Regions from separate parts of the Homo sapiens genome. Here all the other regions are linked to region 1. Evidence: promoter capture Hi-C in human tissues and cell types (Jung and others, 2019). All regions are on one chromosome and are shown on one strand. Each heading gives the region's core, a stretch centred on a gene start or on the middle of the fragment in contact. The rest is flanking DNA. Distances are from core to core; before and after follow the strand shown.

Evidence for each region. The method cuts DNA at HindIII sites, captures the fragments that hold promoters and counts their contacts. A contact is called where the count stands out against the background at its distance.
Region 2: a contact is called between a fragment that was not itself captured here and the fragment with the promoter of MARK3 in region 1, in 2 of the 25 tissues and cell types used here (aorta and dorsolateral prefrontal cortex).
Region 3: a contact is called between a fragment that was not itself captured here and the fragment with the promoter of MARK3 in region 1, in 1 of the 25 tissues and cell types used here (dorsolateral prefrontal cortex).

The regions. Positions count from the first base shown.
Region 1 is chr14:103,383,729-103,387,222 of GRCh38, reverse strand. MARK3 (microtubule affinity regulating kinase 3) reads right to left here and starts at 1,808. Exons shown (of 18, transcript NM_001128918.3): 1 at 1,143-1,808. The coding sequence starts at 1,193. RefSeq lists enhancers at 872-1,061, 1,002-1,991, 1,992-2,983 and a silencer at 1,342-1,531. The HindIII fragment of the contact is 8,681 bases long and covers 1-3,494 here.
Region 2 is chr14:102,596,726-102,600,219 of GRCh38, reverse strand. All of the region lies in intron 2 of RCOR1 (REST corepressor 1), which reads right to left. Among named protein-coding and RNA genes, the nearest start is that of RCOR1, 5.8 kb to the right of the region's middle. The HindIII fragment of the contact is 7,779 bases long and covers 1-3,494 here.
Region 3 is chr14:102,765,405-102,768,898 of GRCh38, reverse strand. No RefSeq gene overlaps it. Among named protein-coding and RNA genes, the nearest start is that of TRAF3, 10 kb to the left of the region's middle. The HindIII fragment of the contact is 6,726 bases long and covers 1-3,494 here.

The sequences.
Region 1 (3,494 bases), core at 559-3,058:
TTTGAAGATCAAAATGAAAGCATTAACTCCACTAGGCCACAACATCTCAGGACATTACTGAAAGCATGAAAACACTCAAAGCAAGGAAGCATTCCCTAAGAGAAGACATTTCGTGCCAGCAATTACCTCATAACACTTTTAATGAAAGGCCAGTGAAGTTTCTTTACAAATTATTTACTAGATGTTTTACAGAATATAGTCAACAACTAGATTGAAACACTTTTGAACCCAGTGTTAGAGGAGAACAGAGTTAGAAAACGAACAGAGTCAAACGTTTCTTCAATGGAATTTCTACTACAAGTTCTCATTCTCTAGCAATGCTGTTCCTGGCATTTTGTAGTTTCACATGAACAAAATCAAAGGTTCCTTTTATAAAACCATAGCCTGTGAGCGCTGAAAGGGACCTAAGAGCTCATCTAAGCCAATCTCTTTTTAGGAAGGAGGACAGCGAAGCCCCCAGCGGGTGTCCCTCAGCTAGGCAGTGAGTGGCAGAGCAGAGCTTCACTATACATCTGCTTTTCAAAATGTTTAACCAACTCCTTCAAAAAAGATTTGTATGGAAAGGAAACTGCCTTAATAAAGGCTGCGCGCTAGTGTTTTGGAATTCCTAAGGGGACCGCAAAGATCCCTCAGTGGACACTTAGTGACTGTGATTAAATTTAGTTCCAGACCATCTTAAAGAACGAGACCGCCCACTTGACCCAATCGATTACTCTTAATCAGCACCGGTAACATATGTTATTAATGTGACAGTCTCTCAAGAACTGCCTGACCAAGTTAAAAGCAGAGTTCGGCTAAAATAAGCACTGACCACTGCAGTGATCTGACACACACGTTTGCACAATCCATTGCGCGGCAACCTGGCCTCTCAAAGCACCGATCCGTAACGCTGCAACTCCTGGGCTTTATTAACCGACTAGACTGCCGGCATAATCGATGTACTTCGCAGACCCGCCCGCGAACAGCGGGACACGGCAGACTTCTGGAGGAAACGGTCCGACCTGGCTGCCTCCTGGGTGACTACGGCCTGCCCTCTATTTCCAGAGCGTTCGGCTGGGGGGAACACCCGACTGCAAGGCACTGCCCGAGGAGCACGAATGCCACCCCGAAGGTCCGCCAACTACAACGCCCAGGTTACTTACGTTTTCAGTGTCTCGTTCATTCACCGTTGGCAATGGGGTCCTAGTGGACATTTTACTGCACTTTAATTCTGCACAATGCGAGGGTCAAAACAAAACAGCACAGCCCTAGGAGGCCGGCGACCAGCGTCCTCGAGTCCACGGCAGTTCCGAAAAGGCGCCGTGGGGAGGGCGGCTCCCTTCCCCCTACGGCCGTCTAGATCCCGGGCCTGGCCCGGGCCGTCCCCCGGCGGGTCCCGGGGCTCATTCTCTCCCTGCCTCGGCGGCCGAGGCGAGGAGACCGGGAGGGCGGCAGTGGCGGAGCCGAGCCTGCGGGCGGCGGGCTGCGCTTCGGCCCGCCGGCGTCCCCTTGCCTCAGGGCGCCCCGCGATCCTGGGCCCCCTCACCTCCTTCTCCACTCCCTCCCGTCGCACCGCGAATTTCAGCTCGCGGGCCTCCACACAGCGCCGCCGGCGGCGCCTGAAAACGAGGAGGCGGAGGAGGATGTGAAGGAAGTGGAGCGCAAGACAGGCCGCCGCGGGCTGTGGGCGCCGACCATGGAGCGGGCTGCGGAGGAGGCGCCTGCGCCCGACTGCTTCTCCCTCTCTAGCGAGCTTGCTGCCTCAGCCTCCGCCCTGCTGGCCGCCGCTGCCGCCGCCGCACCCCGGCACCTCAGAGCCTCACGGAGCCAAGATGGCCGCCCCTCGGCTTCCTCTGCTGCCTCCGGCTGCCGGAAGTGACGACAGGCCGCCACCCGGAGTCCCGCCAATCAGCATGGCCTGAGAAAGCCGGCCCGGCTGTTGTTGCTAGGGGCGACTTGGTCCAGACCTCGCCGCGGGGGCGGTGCAGAGGGCTGGATAGTGCTGGTCGGGTCTCCGCTGACTCCCGCGGGCTGCGGGTTCCTCCTGTCCCGAGCGCGCCGGCAACCGCGAAAGAGCCGAGAAACGGCTCTGGGCGACAGCCAGAGCCCTCCCGCTGAGTTGGCATTTACACACTACAGGCCTGGGTTGGCTGGATTACAGATCGAGAGCCTATTGTGCGCAAAAGTTGCGGTTGCATCCCTGGGACTGCGCTGCACCGAATGGAGCCCCAGCATTAATTAATGACAGGGCCGGGGCTACGGGAAGGCGCCGGGCTCTTGCATCCTTAACTGTGACCCGGGAGTCAGGTTCTCGCCAACAAACCTTCCCGTCTCCGGATCTGAGCAGCTGCGGGCTGGGCGCGGACCCTGAGGGCAGCAGGCGCCTCTTGCCCTCAAGGAGCTGGTGGTCAGACGGGTGACAGACCCGGACCCAGCTAAATGCCATCCGGATGGAAGAGTGCAATAACGAGGGTGGCACAAAGGGGATGGGTTTGGGGGCGAAATGAATCTGTAGAGGACCCCAGGGACCAGCTTCCAAATGCCTGTAGGGGGTTTATAAGCAGGCTTTTCTTACAGTCAGTGCGTTGCTGCTGGAAGACTGGAAGCATCTCTGGGTGCCAGCCTCGGGCCAGGCTCGGTAGATGCCTGCAGGCTGGAACACTGGAAATGCTACCTGACCTGGAAGCCTTCCTTGCCCATTCACCTCTTCACGTGCTCGGTGCCTCTACTCAGCTCCTGGCCAGCGGTGGATGGAATCCATGGGTGCAGGGTCCGAAGAGGGAGAGTAGTGTGAGATGGGGGTGACACGAACTGTTACCGAGAGTCGAGTCTACCTTGTGGGTTCATGACATTTGTTACCTCATTTAGCCTCAGGGTAACCCTATGAGATGGGCAGACACACATGCGATCCGAAGTCTAGACAGGTACAGTGACTTGGCTAAAGTACACAGGTTGGTTAGCGACAGAGCTGGGATTCTAACCTAGCTCCCAAAGCTTGGATAATAGGTAAGCCCTTGTAGTGGGGGGCTATGTCATGCTTGCTTTCCCTTTGGTCCGTTGGCATCCCAACTCTCTTGCTATGTTTGAGACATTTCTTGCTCCACGAAATATATGTTTGTTGTTGTTGTTGTTGTTGTTGTTGTTTTGGGACGGAGTTTCGCTCTGTCGCCCAGGCTGGAGTGCAGTGGCGCGATCTCCACTCACTGCAAGCTCCACCTCCCGGGTTCACGCCATTCTCCTGCCTCAGCCTCCCGAGTAGCTGGGACTGCAGGTGCCCACCACCATGCCTGGCTAATTTTTTTTGTATTTTTAGTAGAGATGCGGTTTCACCGTCTTAGCCAGGATGGTCTCGATCTCCTGACCTTGTGATCTGCCCGTCTCGGCCTCCCAAAGTGCTGGGATTACAGGCGTGAGCCACTGCGCTCGGCCAAATATATGTATCTTTAAACGCCAGATTCACTCCCAGAGAGGCCAGAGGCTCCCAATGTTAAAACACCTGAGGACTAAGGTAACAC
Region 2 (3,494 bases), core at 648-3,147, 790 kb after region 1:
GCTACTCAGAGAGGCTGAGGCAGGAGAAGGGCGTGAACCCGGGAGGCGGAGCTTGTAGTGAGCTGAGATCGCGCCACTGCACTCCAGCACCCCAGCCTGGGTGACAGAGCGAGACTCCGTCTCAAAAAAATAATAATAATAATTAAATAAATAAATCACAAAGCATTGCCAGGCACATGCCTGTGATCCCAGCACTTTGGGAGGCCAAGGCAGGAAGACTGCTTGAGCACAAGAGTTAGAGACCAGCCTGGGCTCAAGCGTGGTGATGTGCACATGTATTCCCAGCAACTGATGAGGCTGAGGGGGGAGGATCACTTGAGTCTGGGAGGCAGAGGTTGAAGTGAGCCAACATCAGGGCCACTGCACTCTAGCCTGTGTGACAGAGCAAGACCTTGTTTCAAAAAAAAAAAACAAAACAAAACAAAACCACAAAGCATTCACCATATTTTTTTTACAATGATCTAAAGCATAAAAAAAGCAGAACATAGAATCACCAGTGAAAACAAATGAAAGGCATATCAAGACACCCTGTTCAGTAAAATTACCTATTCCACATGAAAACATAACACAGTTTTCTGACAGAAGTCAACTCTGAAGTGACAGTTAAGCCAATGACAACCACAAATTTTCAGATCTGATTAAATACATTGGATTAAACATTCAAAATAAAGGTTGCTTTTTTAAAGGGCCACTATCTCAAAAATATTCATCATTAACAATGTACGCCTCTGAAGCACCAAGGACGTGTATAAAGAGAATAAAAAAAATTAAAAAATAGTAATAATAATGGCTGAACACGGTGGCTCACACCTGTAAGCCCAGCACTTTGGGAGGCCAAGGCAGGCAGATGGCTTGAGCCAAGGAGTTCGAGACCAGCCTGGACTACGTGGCAAAACTCTTGTCTCTACAAAAAATACAAAAAAACTAGTCAGGCATGGTCGTGGACATCTGTAGTCCCAGCTACTTTCGAGGTAAAGTATGGATGGGAGGATAGTGTGCGCCCAGGAGGTTCAAGTTCACTGCCGCCATGATCACACCACTATACTGGTGACAGAGTGTGACCCTATCTCAAAAAAAAAAGGAAAAAAAAGGAAAGAAAAACATTATTCATTTCAAAATAAGTGATGCTTTGCTTATGTAGGAAAGAACCAACCAGAGGTAGGATAGATAAGCATCCCCCCTCTTACCCTATTATTCTGTAACTACTGAATATTAAAAGAAACCAATGACAACTCAGCATAATCTGCGGCAGACAGCATGGAAAGGCAGTCTGGACAACACATGTAAGAACAAAGCCTAAGTTAAAAGTGTAGGGCTGCACTTAGGTTTTTAACTCTTTTTTTTTTTAACTCTTTAAAAGTTGGTAAAACTTTTTATTTCAGTGTAAACACAAATGGTATTCTAACTACCAAGCAATGCCACACTACACCGATCTAATCTAGGTATTAATTATTTTATAAGAACTGAATCAGGGCCAGGCGTGGCGGCTCACGCCTGTAATCCCAGCACTCTGGGAGGCCGAGGCGGGCGGATCACGAGGTCAGGAGATTGAGACCATCCTGGCTAACATGGTGGAACCCCGTCTCTACTTAAAATACAAAAAAATTAGCCGGGCGTGGTGGCAGGCGCCTGTAGTCCCAGCTACTCGGGAGGCTGAGGCAGGAGAACGGCATGAACCCAGGATGCGGAGCTTGCAGTGAGCCCGGATTACACCACTGCACTCCAGCCTGGACAACAGAGCGAGACACCGTCTCAAAAAAAAAAAAAAAAAAGAACTGAATCAGGATTTTAAGACTAACGTGCTCTATCCACCTCATTCACTCTTTGTAAGGCATGACAGAATTAAATCTTCCTTTGAACTGCATAGGAAATATCAGATAGTCTTAGCTCCAACCATTTGCTTTCAAACCTAAATAGGGTCAAGCTGGCATACCGCAAATAAGTAAAATCTGACAAAAAAATCAGGCCGGGCACAGTGGCTCACACCTGTAATCCCAACACTTTGGGAGGCCGAGGTGAGTGGATCACCTGAGGTCAGGAGTTCGAGACCAGCCTGGCCAACATGGTGAAACCCATCTCTACCAAAAATACCAAAATTAGGGCTGCGCAGTGGCTCACGCCTATAATCCCAGCACTCTGGGAGGCCAAGGCAGGCAAATCACCTGAGGTTGGGAGTTCACGACCAGCCTGACCAACATGGAGAAACCCTATCCCTACTAAAAATACAAAATTAGCTGGGTGTGGTGGCCCATGCCTGTAATCCCGGCTACTCGGGAGGCTGAGGCAGGAGAATTGCTTGAACCTGAGAGGTGGAGGTTGAGGTGAGCCGAGATCGAGATCATGCCATTGCACCCCAGCCTGAGCAACAAGAGAAAAAAACTCCATCTCAAAAAAAAAAAAAATTGCAAAAATACCAAAATTAGCCAGACATAGTGGCACACGCCTGTAATCCCGGCTACTGAGGAGGCTGAGGCAGGAGAACTGCTTGAACCCGGGAGGCAGAGGCTGTGTGAGCTGATTGTGCCACTGCACTCCAGCCTGGGCAACATAGAAAGACTCCATTTCAAAAAAAAAAAAAAAAAAAAAAAAAAGGTCGGGCGCAGTGGCTCACGCCTGAAATCCCAGCACTTTGGGAAGCCAAGGTGGGTGGATCACCTGAGGTCAGGAGTTCGAGACCAGCCTGGCCAACAAGGTGAAACCTCATCTCTACTAAAACTACAAAAACTAGCCGGGTGTGGTGGTGTGCGTCTGTAATCCCAGCTACTCAGGAGGCTGCAGCAGGAGGATCGCTTGAACCCAGGAGATGGAGGTTGCAGTGAGCTGAGATCATGCCACTGCACTCCAGCCTGGGTGAAAGAGCGAGACTCTGTCTCAAAAAAAAAAAATCAAAGTCAAATTCCTCCATTCATGCATCTCTACCATAGTTACTTATTTTACTATAATAAAAAAAGAAAAGAAAAAAAGCTGCCTGTTAAGTTTCACGTCCACCTCTCTGTTCAAATTCTAGTAAAAGAGAAGAACAAAGACACACTCAAAACTGAGGTAGGGACAGGGCATGGTGGCTCACGCCTGTAATCCCAGCACTTTGGGAGGCCGAGGGGGGCAGATCACCTGAGGTCAGGAGTTCAAGACCAGCCTGGCCAATATGGTGAAACCCCGTCTCTACTAAAAACACAAAAATTAGCCAGGCATGGTGGCACGCACCTGTAGTTCCAACTACTTGGGAGGCTGAGGCAGGAGAATCACTTGAACCTGGGAGATGGAGGTTGCAGTGAGTCAAGATTGTGCCATTGCACTCCAGCCTGGGCAACAGATCAAGACTCCGTCTCAAAAAAAAAAAAAAAGGCGGGGGGAGGGGCAGTCACAGTGGTTCACGCCTGTAATCCCAGCACTTTGGAAGGACAAGGCGGGGAGATCACCTGAAGCAAAGAGTTCGAGACCAGCCTGGCCAACATGGTGAAACCGCATCTCTAATAAAAACACAAAAATTAGTT
Region 3 (3,494 bases), core at 489-2,988, 620 kb after region 1:
CCGGACATCCATGGCTTTTTGGGTCCTGACAGGACTTTGGTTTTACTCTGAGAGGGGGCGGCCACTGTAAAGTTTGATTGACAGCTTGTATTCTATCAAAAGTAACCTTCTAGTTAATCTCCACTTTCTTCCAGCCAATAAATATCTGTTGAACTTCAGGCAAATTCATGATAAACCCGTGATATTCACCCCCAAATGGGCCCCTGGCCTGGCACAGTGGCTTCGTGCCTGGAGCATGGAGGACACCAGAGGACAAGCCCCCAGCTCTTCTTGCCAAGAGGCCCCCCAAAAAATAATGGTGATGAGCTCCCTAGGAAAAATGAACCCATGAGGAATCACTAGAGCAAGAGAATTCTCCACCAGAAATCGAAAAAGCAGAACTCAACTCATGACTAACCATATGCTCTTAGGAAGGCACTTCTGTACCTCCTGACCCAGGGTTTCCCCTTTTGTACAGCGGAAATAAGTTAGCCTGCCCTACCCCAAGGGAGCTTCGAGAAGACAGCCAGTGCTGGTGAGGACAACGAGGCCAACGTGTCCTGGGGGGTGCCATGATAATCCAGAAGAAAGGCACAGGGCGGTCTTTTGGAAGCTGTCACTGTAATACTGTGGAAGGATCAGCCCGTCTTTCCTCAGTATGTGAAAGGTGGTTTAACTCTGGGCTCCATGATCAGTTGCCATGGGTAAAAATGATATCTACCCCCACATAATTAAAATAACACTGGGGGCCAGGCACGGTGGCTCACGCCTGTAGTCCCAGCACTTTGGGAGGGCGAGGCGGGCGGATCACTTGAGGTCAGGAGTTTGAGACCAGCCTGGCCAACATGGTGAAACCCAGTGTCTACTAAAAATACAAACATTAAACAGGCGTGTTGACGCACACCTGTAGTCCCAGCTATTTGGGAGGCTGAGGCAGGAAAATCGCTTGGACCCAGGAGGCAGAGGTTGCAGTGAGCCCAGATTGCACCACTACACTCCAGCCTGGGCGACAGAGCGAGACTCTGTCTCTAAAGCAGTCAATCAGTCAATAAAAATGATCATGGGTCAACTCACTTGCGCTCCTGAACTGTCCTGAGCAGAGAATGCCAGGCCTCCTCTCGCCACCCAGTTCTCTGCCAGAGGCTTTGGTCCTCCTGGCTGGTTCCCTCTCCCCAGGGCTGCCCACAGCCTGGAGAGGGTGGAGACCATGCTCACTCTCCATGGTAGGAAGCCCTGGGCAGCCCTCAGAACATTCAACTAAGTGAATGAATGAATGAGTGAATGAGTAAGTGGGCCATCCACCCCAAGTCTCATCTGTCCCATCCATACGCCTCCAGTTTCACTGTGTCATGCTTCATAATAAGTAACTGCCCACACAGGACTGTGGCCCGGGGCTGGGCTCAGAGCTGAGGCTGGCTCTGGCATGTCCACACTGGAGAAGCTTATGGTAGGGCCATCTGTCTGGAAGAGTTGGAGGAACCTGTCTTGAATTCTCATTGCCATAATAAGCAAGATTCCTTTATTTAATATGTGAATTTGAAGTGCATTTGCGGGGCTGAAAATTGGAGTCTGGCCAAGGGCCATGGCTCATGCCTATAATCCCAGCACTTTGGGAAGCTGAGGCAGGAGGAGCGCTTGAGTCCAAGAGTTCGAGATTAGCCTGGGCAATATAATGAGACTGTCTTTACAAAATATCAAAAATAAATAAATAGCTGGACATGGTGGTGTCTGCCTGTAGTCCCAGCTACTTGGGAAGCCAAGGTGGGAGGATCACTTGAGCCCAGATGGTCATAGCTACAGTGAGCCAAGGCTGCACCACTGCACTCCAGCCTGGGTGACAGACTGAGACCCTGTCTCAAAAACAAAATTAAGAAAAGAAAAAGAAAAAGACTGAGGGTCTTTGGCCACCCCCTGGCCTCACCAAGTGTGAACATGAAAGAAACTCAAGGCCAGACCTCCACCCAGTCCAGGCCAATCAAAAACCTGGCGCTCTCTCTATATATATACATTATATATATATAAAATGTGTGTGTGTGTGTGTGTATGTGTTTGTGTAGGAGCGGCGGCTTTTGCCTGTAACTCCAGCAATTTGGGAGGCCAAAGCAGGAGGATCACTTGAGCCCAAGAGTTTGAGACCAGCTTGGACAACATAATGAGACCCCATCTCTATAAAAAATTTAAAAATTAGCCAGCCATGGTGACGTGTGCCTGTGATCTCAGCTACTCAGGAGGCCGAGGTGGGAGGATCGCTTGAGCCTGGGAGATTGAAGCTGTAGTGAGCATGACTGCACCACTGAATTCCAGCCTGGGTGACAGAGCAAGACCCTGTCCCCTGCCCCTACCCCAAAAAAGAATCCACTCTCAACCCCTGCTGCTGTTTGTCTCTGGGAGTTGTTTCAATGACCAACTCTGACTTTGTTCTTCTTACCCAGGTTATGTGTGGGGCAGCCCAATTGTATTTGTGTCTTATTCACCTGAAGCATGAACTCTAATTAATAAACCCAATTACAAGTAGAATTTCCAAACTCGGGGGTGCCGTAAGGCCTTGAGAGGTCCTGGAGGGCTGAGTTGGGTGAGTAGCAATGAAGGAATCCAGGCCACCCATCTTCCCTGGAGCTGGGTCCATGAAAGCAACTCCCCAAGAAGGCGGCTCTTCCAGGGCAGGGTGGGGTGGGGCTTCCCATCTGAAGGCTAAATAAAGGGGTCTGATGAGCCCCATAACACAGAGATCCCCTGTGTTCTCTGTCTTGGGTAGCAAGAATTTAAAAAATCAGTGGATTCACAAATTCGGGGTCTCATTGCACCTCTGTGGTAAATTAGTTGTTTTAAGACGTTAAATCCCGTGCATGATTGCAATGTAGGTGATTTTCCATAACTACCAACTTTCAATTTCCCTCTTTTTTTTTTTCTTTTCTTTTCTTTCTTTTCCCTTCCCTTCCTTTCTCTTTCTTTCTTCCTTCCTTCCTTCCTTCCTTTCTTCTTTCTTTCTTTCCTTGACAGAGTCTCACTCTGTCGCCAAGGCGGGAGTGCAGTGGCGCAATCTTGGCTCACTGCAACCTCTGCCTCCCAGGTTCAAGCAATTCTTTGCCTCAGCCTCCTGAGTAGCTGGGATTACAGGCGCCTGCCACCATGCCCGGCTAATTTTTTGTATTTTTAGTAAAGACAGGGATTCACCATCTTGGCCAGGCTGGTCTTGAACTCCTGACCTCGTGATCACCCGCCTTGGCCTCCCAAAGTGCTGGGATTACAGGAATGAGCCACCGCGCCCGGCCTCTTTTTTTTTTTTTTTTTTTTTTTTTTTTTGATGGGGCCTCATCGTCACTCAGACTGGAGTATAGTGGCACGATCGTGACCCACTGCAGCCTCGACCTCCTAAGCTCAGCCGATCCTCCCATCTCAGCCTATCGAGTAGCTGAGACTACAGGTGGCCGTGTGCCACCACACCTGGCTAATTTTTGTATTTTTTTTGTAGAGATGGGGTTTTACCATGTTGCCCAGGCTGGTCTCGAACTTCT